2 separate regions of the Homo sapiens genome follow, and region 1 is linked to region 2. Evidence: promoter capture Hi-C in human tissues and cell types (Jung and others, 2019). All regions are on one chromosome and are shown on one strand. The core of a region is centred on a gene start or on the middle of the fragment in contact, and the rest is flanking DNA. Distances in the headings are between cores, read along the strand shown.

The links. The method cuts DNA at HindIII sites, captures the fragments that hold promoters and counts their contacts. A contact is called where the count stands out against the background at its distance.
Region 1: a fragment that was not itself captured here is called in contact with the fragment with the promoter of RNF13 in region 2 in 1 of the 25 tissues and cell types used here (hippocampus).

The regions. Positions count from the first base shown.
Region 1 is chr3:149,247,994-149,253,577 of GRCh38, forward strand. It overlaps the pseudogene CPHL1P. Among named protein-coding and RNA genes, the nearest start is that of CP, 29 kb to the left of the region's middle. The HindIII fragment of the contact is 3,740 bases long and covers 351-4,090 here.
Region 2 is chr3:149,810,937-149,816,622 of GRCh38, forward strand. It overlaps RNF13 (ring finger protein 13), which reads left to right and starts at 2,279. Exons shown (of 10, transcript NM_183381.3): 1 at 2,279-2,417. RefSeq lists enhancers at 1,636-2,147, 2,013-2,122 and a silencer at 1,653-1,802. The HindIII fragment of the contact is 17,546 bases long and covers 1-5,686 here.

The DNA of each region.
Region 1 (5,584 bases), core at 971-3,470, 560 kb before region 2:
TTCTTTCTATTTGGAAGCAGGTTGAATTAGTGGCTCTGAAAAATTCTGAAACACAGGTGGTTTTGAGATGAGATAAGCAGCAAGAACTTTCTGCAAACTTGTGCTACAATTACTAAAATTAGAGCCCTGAAGATGCCTGCTGGAGGCTAAATGCTAGCTAAAGACAGGGCCTCTTTGCTCCCTGTGACCATTTCACCTCCCCAAACAATATGCATGGTTTTTCTTTTTAATAAAGTGTTTTCCTTTTTGCGTAAATAATAATAGAACCTTGAGGGTCAGATTGCGTTATTTATCTTCATGCATTCAGCCACAATCCTAGAGAAAACAAACATCCTGTGGTTACTAAAGATAGGGGCCCACTCAAAAGCAGCAGCAACAGGATAGCACAGGCTTCCCTCCAGGGCTCACAAAGAGACAAGCTCTAGAGGCTGACGGAGAGCAAAAAAGAGCAAAAATTCCTCTTCATCAGCATGTAAATCCATCTCCTCAGGATCCCACATCATAAAATAACCTCTAATATACACATAGATATTAAGACTGAAACAGGAGTTGGGCGTGTGGAAATGTCGCATGTGGGCACCTGGGATGACTCAGAGGTTTCCTACTTGATCTATCAAGGGTGGAAGAAAGAGTTGTACTTTTCCTCACTCAGACAGAAGACACTTAAATTTACATAAAGAAGTTCCTTTCCTCACTATACTAGGGTCCCCTGGGCTTTGTTTTAATTGTATTGAAATGATCCCTGCACGCTACTTCTAAACTCCTTTCTAGAATTTTTTAATTCTGAGAGCAAGAATCCAGGTAATCTGAAACTGAGCACATTACTTTTCTACATTCTCCTTATTTTTTAGGAAACAACACTTGAATCATTTTTTCCCCCAATGAAAATGCCTATCAGCAAACAAACCAGAATTACAGGTACTTTCCTCTGTTGAAGTAGAGGTTGACAATGGCCTCCATGTGTACAACAATCTCTAATGGCTGAGGACAAGAAAAACTCGAAAACCAATCTTATGGCATACCAATACCTAGTATATCGAGATGTTTTTCACCTTCATTCCTTTTTGTTTGATTTGTGAACGTGTTATCATCATATTGACGATATAAGACTTTCTTGTATTTGGACCCAAGAAGTGTTCCACTTCTGTCCACATACATGCTCGTTTGGCTTTAAGAAAATAAAAACAAAAACAAAAAAACCCCACAAAGTTAGTTAATTTAACCATTAATTTAGACAAAGAACTCATATGGAAGAACTTCTTATATCTAGAAGCTGTTTTACCTAAAAATGTAAGTCATCTTTTTAAAAATATATATTAATTCTAGCAAGATAGGTAGATATTCATTCTACATTTCAAAGCTTATTTTCAGGATAAAATTTAGTTTTTATAAATAAATATACAGTAAGAGAGAAAACCAGAGAGAGAAATCAAATTGTACAAAAAGAGAAAAACAGGTGTCTTTAATTTGAAGTTCTCAGAAGAATAGAGGTAGAAGAAAATGAAGACAAAAGAAACACCTGACTGTAGATACTGAATGTAGCTGAAGTTATGTCACTATTCCTGTGGTGAGATCAGACAGTAACATATGTCCAGGAAGGATGCAAGAAGTGAAAACTCAGGCAGGAAGAAATAAAGCCCATAAGTAAGTTATATAGATATTTAGAAAGATTTGAAGCCCTTTGCAATTGAATATGTCACACACACACACACACACAAATTTTGAAGTGATTTATAATGGAGAATATCCTAAACACACAAATACCACATCCACATATCCATTATGCACACGTACACCATAACAAACACAAATAAATATACCACACACACCCACCATACCAAACACAAATAAATACAACACACACACAGACACAGACACACACAGAGAGACTGAAAGGAAAGAGAGGAAGACTCAGAAAGAACCCTTAGAACCCTTCCCATTTAGAGACTGGAGCTATCATGGTACTTCTCTCTTCGTAAGTGGTGGAGTTCATTCTCCCACTTTCTACTAGGAGAATAATCCCATTCCATTTCCTCGGCTGCAATGGTAATAATTATTTTCTCCTCCTGGTATTGTGTTTGATCAGGGTTTGGCTTCCCACATTGCCTCACGTGATATTTATGTTTCATGCCTCCTAGATTGTGCTTTATTGTCATGCAAACCAAATCAAAAGTTCCTACAGACGAATAAGAAAGGAATGGTTAAAGCCTTGCCTTCAGATTTCTTTCCTCTGTAAAATTATTAATAAGCTGCAACCCTCAAAAGAAATATAGTAAAATCATTTGTTCATTCTTTCATTAATTCAACAAATATTTATTGATGACCTTCTTTGTGTCAGACATATTTCTAGGCATTCGGGAAACATCAGAGAACAAAATAGTTAAAAATTCTTGCTCTCAGAGTTCATATTGCAAGGTGTTGTGGAGACAAACAATAAACATGTTAAGCAACTTGTATGTATGCTGGAAGGTGATAAGAGCTATGATTAAAGAAAAAAAGTAAAACAGTGTAAGGAGGACTGAGGATTCTGGGTGTGTGTTGGGAAGGGCTCAAGAGAGCAGTGAGCAATATCATAGGGTAAGCAGGGTAGGCCTCGATGAGAGGGTGATACCTGGGCAAAAATTTATAAGAGATGATATGGGTCTGGAGGAAAAGTGTGTTCTCTCTAGGCAGAATAAACAGGTGGCAAAGGCCCCAGGCCAGGAGCCTGTTTGGTGTGTGTGAAGAGCACCCAAGAGGCCTGTGTGTCTGGAGGGAGGGAGCAAGGGTGAAAGTACTAGGGAGCAGAGGGCTAGGTGATGGAGCCCTTGTGGGCCACTGAATACATGATAGCATTCACTAAGTGAAATGGAGAGCCACTGTGGGATTTTAAGTCAATGAAGGGTATAAGGACACTCTAGCAGCTGTGCTGAGAATAGGCTGGCGTGTACAATGGTGAAAGAAACGGGATCTGTTGAGAGGCTATTAAAAATAATCGATGAGAGATGATGGCTTTGATCAGAGTGGTAGGTAGCAGAGGAGGGAGTGAAAAAAAGTTCAATACATTAAAAATACATTAAAAATCCAAAACAATGACAAAAACAAAAACAAACCACCATAACAAAAAAACTCTAGCCTGATTCTGACCAGAACATTCCACCTGAATTCCAGTTTTCTTTCTTTTACCTTGGTAATTTTAGGCCCACCACGTGCTGACACTGCTTCTTGACGAAAGCTCTCTTTCAACTCTACGTATTTCTGTTGTTGCTGTGACTTTTGTGGAGGGTAAGGTTTAGGAAGATGTACAAGGAAGCAAAACCTTCAGACTCAGAGGGTTTGAGAAAAAGAATTTGTTGAAAATGACATAATCCCTGTATAAGCTCTAGCACCGTGTTTAACACATAGTGTACCTGTCTCCACTTGTTTGCTACAGTTGATATGCTTTGGAAAAGAGAATGAGACAAGGTAGTTTTTAAATCCAGAAAAACACCTGCAGGGGAAAGGAGAGGAAGGACTGGGGCAGGAAAAAGAAATAACTTGTCCCTGAATGAGCATGCAGGTACATCCTCTAAAAAAGAGGAGGAAAAAAAAAAGCACCAGAGAAAGATCTCTCTCTCTTTTTTTTTTTTTTTTTTTTTTTTTGTGTGTGAGACCGAGTCTTGCTCTGTCGCCCAGGCTGGAGTGCAGTGGCACGATCTCGGCTCACTGCAAGCTCCGCCTCCTGAGTTCATGCCATTCTCCAGCCTCAGCCTCCCGACTAGCTGGGACTACAGGCGCCTGCCACCATGCCCAGCTAATTTTTTTGTATTTTTAGTAGACACAAGGTTTCACCATGTTAGCCAGGATGGTCTCAATCTCCTGACTTCATGATCCGCCCGTCTCAGCCTCCCAAAGTGCTGGGATTACAGGTGTGAGCCACCGCGCTGGGCCAAAGATCGCTTTCTTTTCCCCTCCAATTACTCTGAATCACAACTTTTGTTTGTTTGAAAAGTAAAATTTTAAATTTTGAAATGAAGAAAATGTAGTCAAATGAATATTTGGCATCACAAAGAGTCAAGATACCAATTCATAGTATTTACAGAGTAGTTTGTTTATCATATAGCCAGATTTTGGTTGATATCAGTCATTTTTGACCAAGATAGATGTATTTTGGGGCGGGGGGGCAGGTATATGGGACAAGGGTGGATCTACTGGATTAAAGAAGGAACTAGCATTTATTGAAAGTCTAACATATGCCAGGCAGTTTACTATACTTTACCTATCTCATTGATCACTGTCTATTCCTTTTTGCAAATTACAAGTTTTTACAATTCCTATTTTACAAATGAGGAAACGAGGTTCAGAAGGAAGGCTGGTTTCCTTTGATCCCCACACAGTTCTTTGATATGGGGTGCCTTCTTTAAAAAAAAAAAATGTTGCCAGCAAGGATCAACCTCACTGAAGCTAAAACATTTATCCAGAGAGCAAAGCTAGTAAGGAGGATAGAAAGAGGAAGTCACAAGGCAGTAGGGTAAGGTCGAAGCAGCAGGAAGGCCTGGGAAACAAATGGACAGAAGAGTAAGAAATGCAGAAGACAACAGAATGAAAATGAGTTTAAAGGGTTTAAAACATCTTCATCATTTTTGAAGAGCATTGGGATGGTTTAAAGCCTGAAGGACTAGGAAGAGGACCTGAAAAAACTGAGGTGATTTATGTGTATAGGAAAATGAAATACTAAGGCTCTTATAAATGAAGTGGAGCAGGGCAAAGATTTCTCAAGCATTGTTTGTATCAGTTCAATTTTTTTTTCCTGTACAGAATATTCAGTGCGTATAAAGATAGTGCTTCTGCATACTTTAATGTTTCAGGCTGAATGAGAAGACCCACTGCTCACCTATAGAATCAGGTGTCATCAAAAGCGTCTGAGAAGTATAAGGAAACATAGGTATTGTGTCCCTTCTTGCTCCTAAAGAAGTGAAGGTATTTCCTGAAAAATATATCCCGTGTAAATCTTCCACTGATCCTACACTAAAAACGTGCCACAAAACGTTGTCTCCTAAGCACGTGTCCAATCCAGGCAGATTTCCATACATGTATCCATTTATGGCTGCAAGGTATTTGTAACAAAGGAAAGAGTATTTAATTCACTGGTACTTGATATCTTTTGAAACCCAACAAAGCATTAATCATGAAGCAGCTCATTCACGTAAAAAAAAGCAATTTTTTCAACTTTCCTTTCCTCTATTGTTATTTAATCACTTCATGGGGGCTAAAAATGACATTATAGAATTAGAGAATGACAGAATTCCATGATACCCTCATTGGGTTATTCCAGTCAAGCTCTTCCTTTTAGAGTTGAGGAAACTAAGGCCAGAGAAATAGTTTCTTGTCCAATGTCATACGGCTAACAAATGACAATGTTAAGACCAAAGTCCAAGTCTCCAGATTCTGGATCAACCCTTTTCCCAATGCACTGTACAGTCTTCAAAAACCAACAACCAACCAACCAGCCACCCACCAACCCACCCAACCAGCTCAACAAACACCCTACTCCACCCACTCTACGAATTTGGCAGTAGAGAAGTACGTGACTTTTCACATTTAGCTATAGATAAAATATATTGCA
Region 2 (5,686 bases), core at 1,029-3,528:
TTATCTGAAGAGCAGGTTGAAACCAGAAGTAAAATATTCTGTACTCAAGGTGCCTTTAAGGAATAAGCAAAGCTCTTTGTCTGAGCGTGGTGACTCATGCCTGTAATCCTAGCACTTTGGGAGACCGAGGCAAGAAGATCCTTTGAGGCCAGGAGTTTGAGACCTGCCTGGGCAACATAGCCAGACTGTAAGGCTAAAAAAAATAAAAAAATTAGCCAGGCCTGGTGGCACATGCCTGTAATCCTAGCTACTCCAGAGGTTGAGGTGGGAGGATTACTTGAGCCCAGGAGTTCTGGACTGCAGTGAGACATGATCTCACCACTGCACTCCAGCCTGGGCAACAGAGTGAGACCTTGTCTCTAAAATAAATAAAAATAAAACAACAAAACCCAAAGCTCCTCTCTGTGGACTTAATTTTTTTTTTTTTTTTTGGAGATGGAATCTTGCTCTGTTGCCTATGCCCGAGTGCAGTGGTGGGATCTCAGCTCACTGTAACCTCTGCCTCCCATGTTCAAGCGATTCTCCTGCCTCAGCTTCCCAAGTAGCTGGGATTACAGGTGTGCACCACAATGCCCGGCTAATTTTGTATTTTTAGTAGAGACGAGGTTTCACCATGTTGGCCAGTGTGGTCTTGAACTCCTGACCTCAAGTGATCCGCCTGACTTGGCCTCCCAAAGTGCTGGGATTACAGGCATGAGCCACCGCACCCGGCCTAAAAAAATTTATTTTGATGTTATGCAAGAAATCTGATTTAATATACCAATTTGGGATAATTTAATGAAAAAAATGCTTATAGAGATATTATAAATGTGTTTATACTAATTAGTCTTCTTAGTAATATTCCCAATGCTGACTTTTATTTATGACTTTCTTAAAGGCAGAATTGTGATTTAAGTATTGAATGTCTTTGCAACCAATGAAAAGTTAAGACTACATAGAATACTCATAGGATACACAGAAGAGGAAAGTACCTTTGATAGCTTTTATTTAATTTTTTAAAATTTGATCTTAAATTTCTTGTATTTGAATTTTATTTGAGTAGGTAATATTTGCAAGGTTCAAAATTCAAAAGGCACAAAAGGATACACAATAAGGAAAGAGTCTTTTCCCCATTGCTGTGTCCCACCTACTCAGGGCTCTCCAAGCAATCAAAGTGACAAGTTACATCCAATGGTATTCTACTAATACTCTGTGTGATAGCCTCCTCGCCACCATTTTTAAAAGATGATGTTGAAGGAGTTGAAGCCTGTAAAGGCCTTATTAAGGGTGCCTTATTATTTGAAGCAGAAGTAGTGCCTGATTCTATGTCTCCTGACATTTCTTTCAGGACTCTGTAATATTTGCCTAAGTCACACTGCTTTTGTAAGGTGGCGAGTTGGCAATGATTAATCAATGTGGATGGTACAATCCGGTAATTTAAGTTTCGACTGGTTTAAGATTGAGACAACCAGAAAGGAAGGCTTATCAGAAGGGCGGCAGGGGAGGAGATTTTTGGTTCATCAAAAGGAGGCAAGGGTTTTAAAAGGCTGACCTAGGGCCTGAATCACATGGTTTGACTTTTGCTAAGCCCCGGGGATGGCGCGTGTCAGGCCCAGAGTGCTGATGCCAGCGTGGATCCGAGCCAGGCCTCAGGGGACTGGCGTTCAGACCTCGGGCCGCTCGCATCTCTAACAATTTGAGCCCTACTTTAAGGTGTGGCCACGGTCCCCACCCACTCTGATCTCAGACTGGGCACGGTACGGAAGGCGGGCGGATGAGGCCTCGCCCTCGCCTCTTTAGTAGGTCGGGTGAGTGTAGTGTGCAGGGAAGAGACGCGTCAGCGCCAGGGCCAGGCCCGCCCGGGGGCAGCCCGGCAGCCGAATCTTGGGCTACTCTGTCCCAACAGCCGGAGCAGATCAGACCGACCGGCCCTGCCCGCTCGGTCCCGCGCCCTCCAGACCCTACGGTCTCCGTTTCTAGGGGCACATGGTTAGCGGCAGGCGCCCACAGCCAATCCACTTTGCCAGCCTGCCCCTTCCTCTGCCAAGAGCAGCTTCTTCAGCCGCGCTCCAGTTCCGCAGACGCCTGCCCCACCCTGCTCTTCCCTTCCAGGGAAGACGGATCACGCGGCCAAGAACGAGACTCGCAAACTGGGCATTTCTCCGAGCCGGGCTAGAGCAAGTAGCGAGACTCCGCGTGAGAGTGGGAAAGAGCCTTAACAGGCAACCATGTTGCCCAGTGGGTTTTCTGTGCCTTTGGGTGCGGACCAATGAGGCGCGTGGGGCGGGACTTCCGCTTCGCCTAGGTGTTGTCGTCCCTGCTAGTACTCCGGGCTGTGGGGGTCGGTGCGGATATTCAGTCATGAAATCAGGGTAGGGACTTCTCCCGCAGCGACGCGGCTGGCAAGACTGTTTGTGTTGCGGGGGCCGGACTTCAAGGTAAGACCCTGTCCGGCTTCGCGGCAGCCGGGCAGCTCGTTATCGAGCGGCCCAGAGAACATACCCCGCTTGTTGGCCCTCGAGCTCGGAGTCGGCCCTGCTGCTGAGGTCTTTGCTGCTCCTCTAGAGCTGGGTGAGAAGTCAATTAGGCTTTTTGCAAAAGGAATAAAATAGCCTTGCCCTCGGGGGACCGAGTCTCCCCTGCACTCTCATTCCGCGAGTTTGTGTGTGTCCAAAGTTGAGTTACCGGTTTTGCTTCTCTCATTCCCTTCTTGAGGCTGCAAGAGCCTGCCTGGAAAACATGTTTGGAAGGCTTTTCTTGGTCAAGTACCTGCCGCAACGTCCTCGGGCACATCGCTTGACTTTAGTTGAGGGGGCTGTTTTGTCTCTGAATAGAAGGAGGGCAGTCACTTCCTCTCTTTTACCCCCACCCCCTTTTTCTTTCCCTGGAAGCTCAGATTGCAGGTTTGGGACTTAACCCCTGCTAGGGCCAGATACTACGGTCAGTCAGCAGCTCTGCCTGTATGCTTGACTTGACTTGACTTGCACTTATTAAATAACTTTGTCCCAGAGAGAAAGAGAGAGTGGGCAGACATCGAAGCCAAACAGCAGTATCCCGGAAGCACTCATGCAACTTTGGTGGCGGCCACTCAGTTTTCTCTGCCAGTGTCTGGTAAATTCCTCTATTTTGTCCTAATCTGACAATAGTAAATAGTAAATTTCCAAAACTGTCGTTTCATCATCAGTTTCAGCACCGTGGGCAGCTGCTCGGGTCCTCTCTTGTTGCCCCAAACCTGCCCGGCTATTACTGTTCGTCAGTGATGCAGCAGAAACAGTGAAAACTGATGCATTCCTTTCAACAATGATGTGTTTGTTCTCCAAGGAGAACATCTGCAGTTTTTGATACAATATAAATAAGTAAGGTGGCTGTGCCTCCAAAGAGTTCTTCTGGAGAAACAGATCAATTCAAGATTTAAGGTAGGGCTTTCAAGAGTTTATGCTATTTAAGCACAGTTTTTTAATGGGTGGACATTAGCTCCATCTCGAAGTAACAAAACTGGACAGTGATAGCAATTAAAAAGAACTTTAAACAGGAGGTAAGAAGTGTAGTGCAGTGCTGTAGTGCAGGAAGTGTAGTGCAGTGCTGTAGTGCAGGGCCCATAAGGATTCATTAATAGATTTTAGAATCAATTTAGTACATTGACATAAGCTTTATAAAGAAAGAAAAAATACCAGAGGACATTGTATGGAATAAAAGTAAATATTATGGCAAGAAGCTTTTGTTTCAGTTTTTAACAGTATGTGTGTGTCAAGAGGAAGATGGAAATGTAAAGTGTATTATGGATTATGGCAAAAACAAATGTTTCAAAATACTAAATTCCAAATTTGGGAGTCAAGCTGGGTTCAGCTCTGCCATTTACTAATTCTGTGACATTTTCCGTAAATAAGAAATGAGTTGTTATGAGGATTAAATGAAACAAAATTTGTCTATTACATAATTTTTTTTTGTTTTGTTGGAAACTGTTGGAGAGAGGCACAGTTATTTTTCTCTATGTAGGGAATGAGAACTGTTTTATTAGTTTTTTTTTTTTTAACCTCTGCCTTTGTTTGAAGCTAGGCAGCTTGACATCTTGTCTCTATGTGTAATGCAAATCATAGACAGAATCTTGGTTTGAGAGGTATAATACTGAAGGGTTTGGGATAAGTTCTCATCTATGCTTGTATAAAGCTAATTTTCTCAATAATTTTGGAGGGGCATAAATTGTTGCTAGCATTCAGCTTTCTTCCCTTGATATTTTTCTGCATTCCAGAATAACGTAGATTTATCAGAACTTTTACAGGCACTAACTTTAGCTAAGTGAGGGTAGGCCTGAGGGTATGACTAAAGGGATAGATTTATGTCTTTGAGTTAAGTTGGCTAGGAAGGCATTTTATGCCTTATAGTTCTTGCCATAAGAGATGTATGAAATGAAATAGTTTGGTCAACTATCATGGTATGTTTTGCTTACTTCATGTAGGTGTGACCTAGAAATGGTTGGCATTTAAATAACAATATTTTTAAATCTGGGAATTGATGTTTAGCAGGAGGCAAATGAGTTTCAGTCAAAACAGTGTTTTGCACCATTTGTCATGTTTACCATATGGCATTGCATATGATAGTTTCACATGACATAAAAAGGGGAAGAAAGTTGGTAAGCATTGTTACTTTTCCCAAAAGAGGAAACAAAATTAGAAGCGAATTCCTTTTAATAAAGCATACTGGTGAGTCATTGTTCAAAAATGTATGTATTCTATAGATATTTATTGAGCATATATAAAAGTAAAATATTAAACTTTTATGAATCTTTTACATTACACAAAAGTTGATTTGGGAACAACACAGCATATGATTGGTATTGTCAAAGTTTATATAGCATAGTATATCAACAACAACAAAACAGTAATGTAGCTAATATTGATTGGTTAATATGAGCCAAATACAATTCTAAGTGCTTTATAATATCTCAGGTGGTTCTTACAGTCATTGATGTGGTAGATAGTAAGTTGTTTCCTTTTTATTTTTTTTTGGGACAGGGTCTTGCTCTGTTGCCCAGGCTGGAGCAATTATGGCTCACTGCACCCTCGACCTCCCGTGCTCAAGGGATCCTCCTATCTTAGCCCGACAAGTAGCTGGGACTACAGTCATAAACCCCCATGCCTGGCTAATTAAATTTTTTTTTTTTTTTTGTAGAGACAAGGTCTCATTATGTTGCTCAGTCTGGTATGAAACTTTAGGGTTCAAGTCATCCACCTGCTTCAGCCTTCCAAAATGCTGGGATTACAGGTGTGATACATCATGCCTGTCTTATCCCCATTTTCTAAGTGGGAAGTGGGGGAATTAAGGCATCACAGATACATAACTTCTGAGTTCACACAAGTAGCTGGTGGAGTAGCTGGAATTTGATCACAGGTATTCTGACTACAGAACGTCTGTCTCTTTTGTGTCTTATTTCATTAAAAAATATGGAATGCTGTGGGGCTATTGTGGATTCGTACTTGCTGGTGACCTTGGGGAAGCTCCTCCTCAATTTCCTTAACTCCTTCCTTACTTGTTTTTGTGGGGATTCAGATAATTTGTGAAGCAATCAGATGGCGTATATGTTTAGTAAATTATATGCCTTAGCCTTTTTTTTTTTTTCATTGAGGATGAGGTCATTTGAAAGATTGTTAGCAGTTGAAGGAGGGTGGAAAAAAAAAAGTTCCACATAAGGACACTGCCCAAGCAAAGG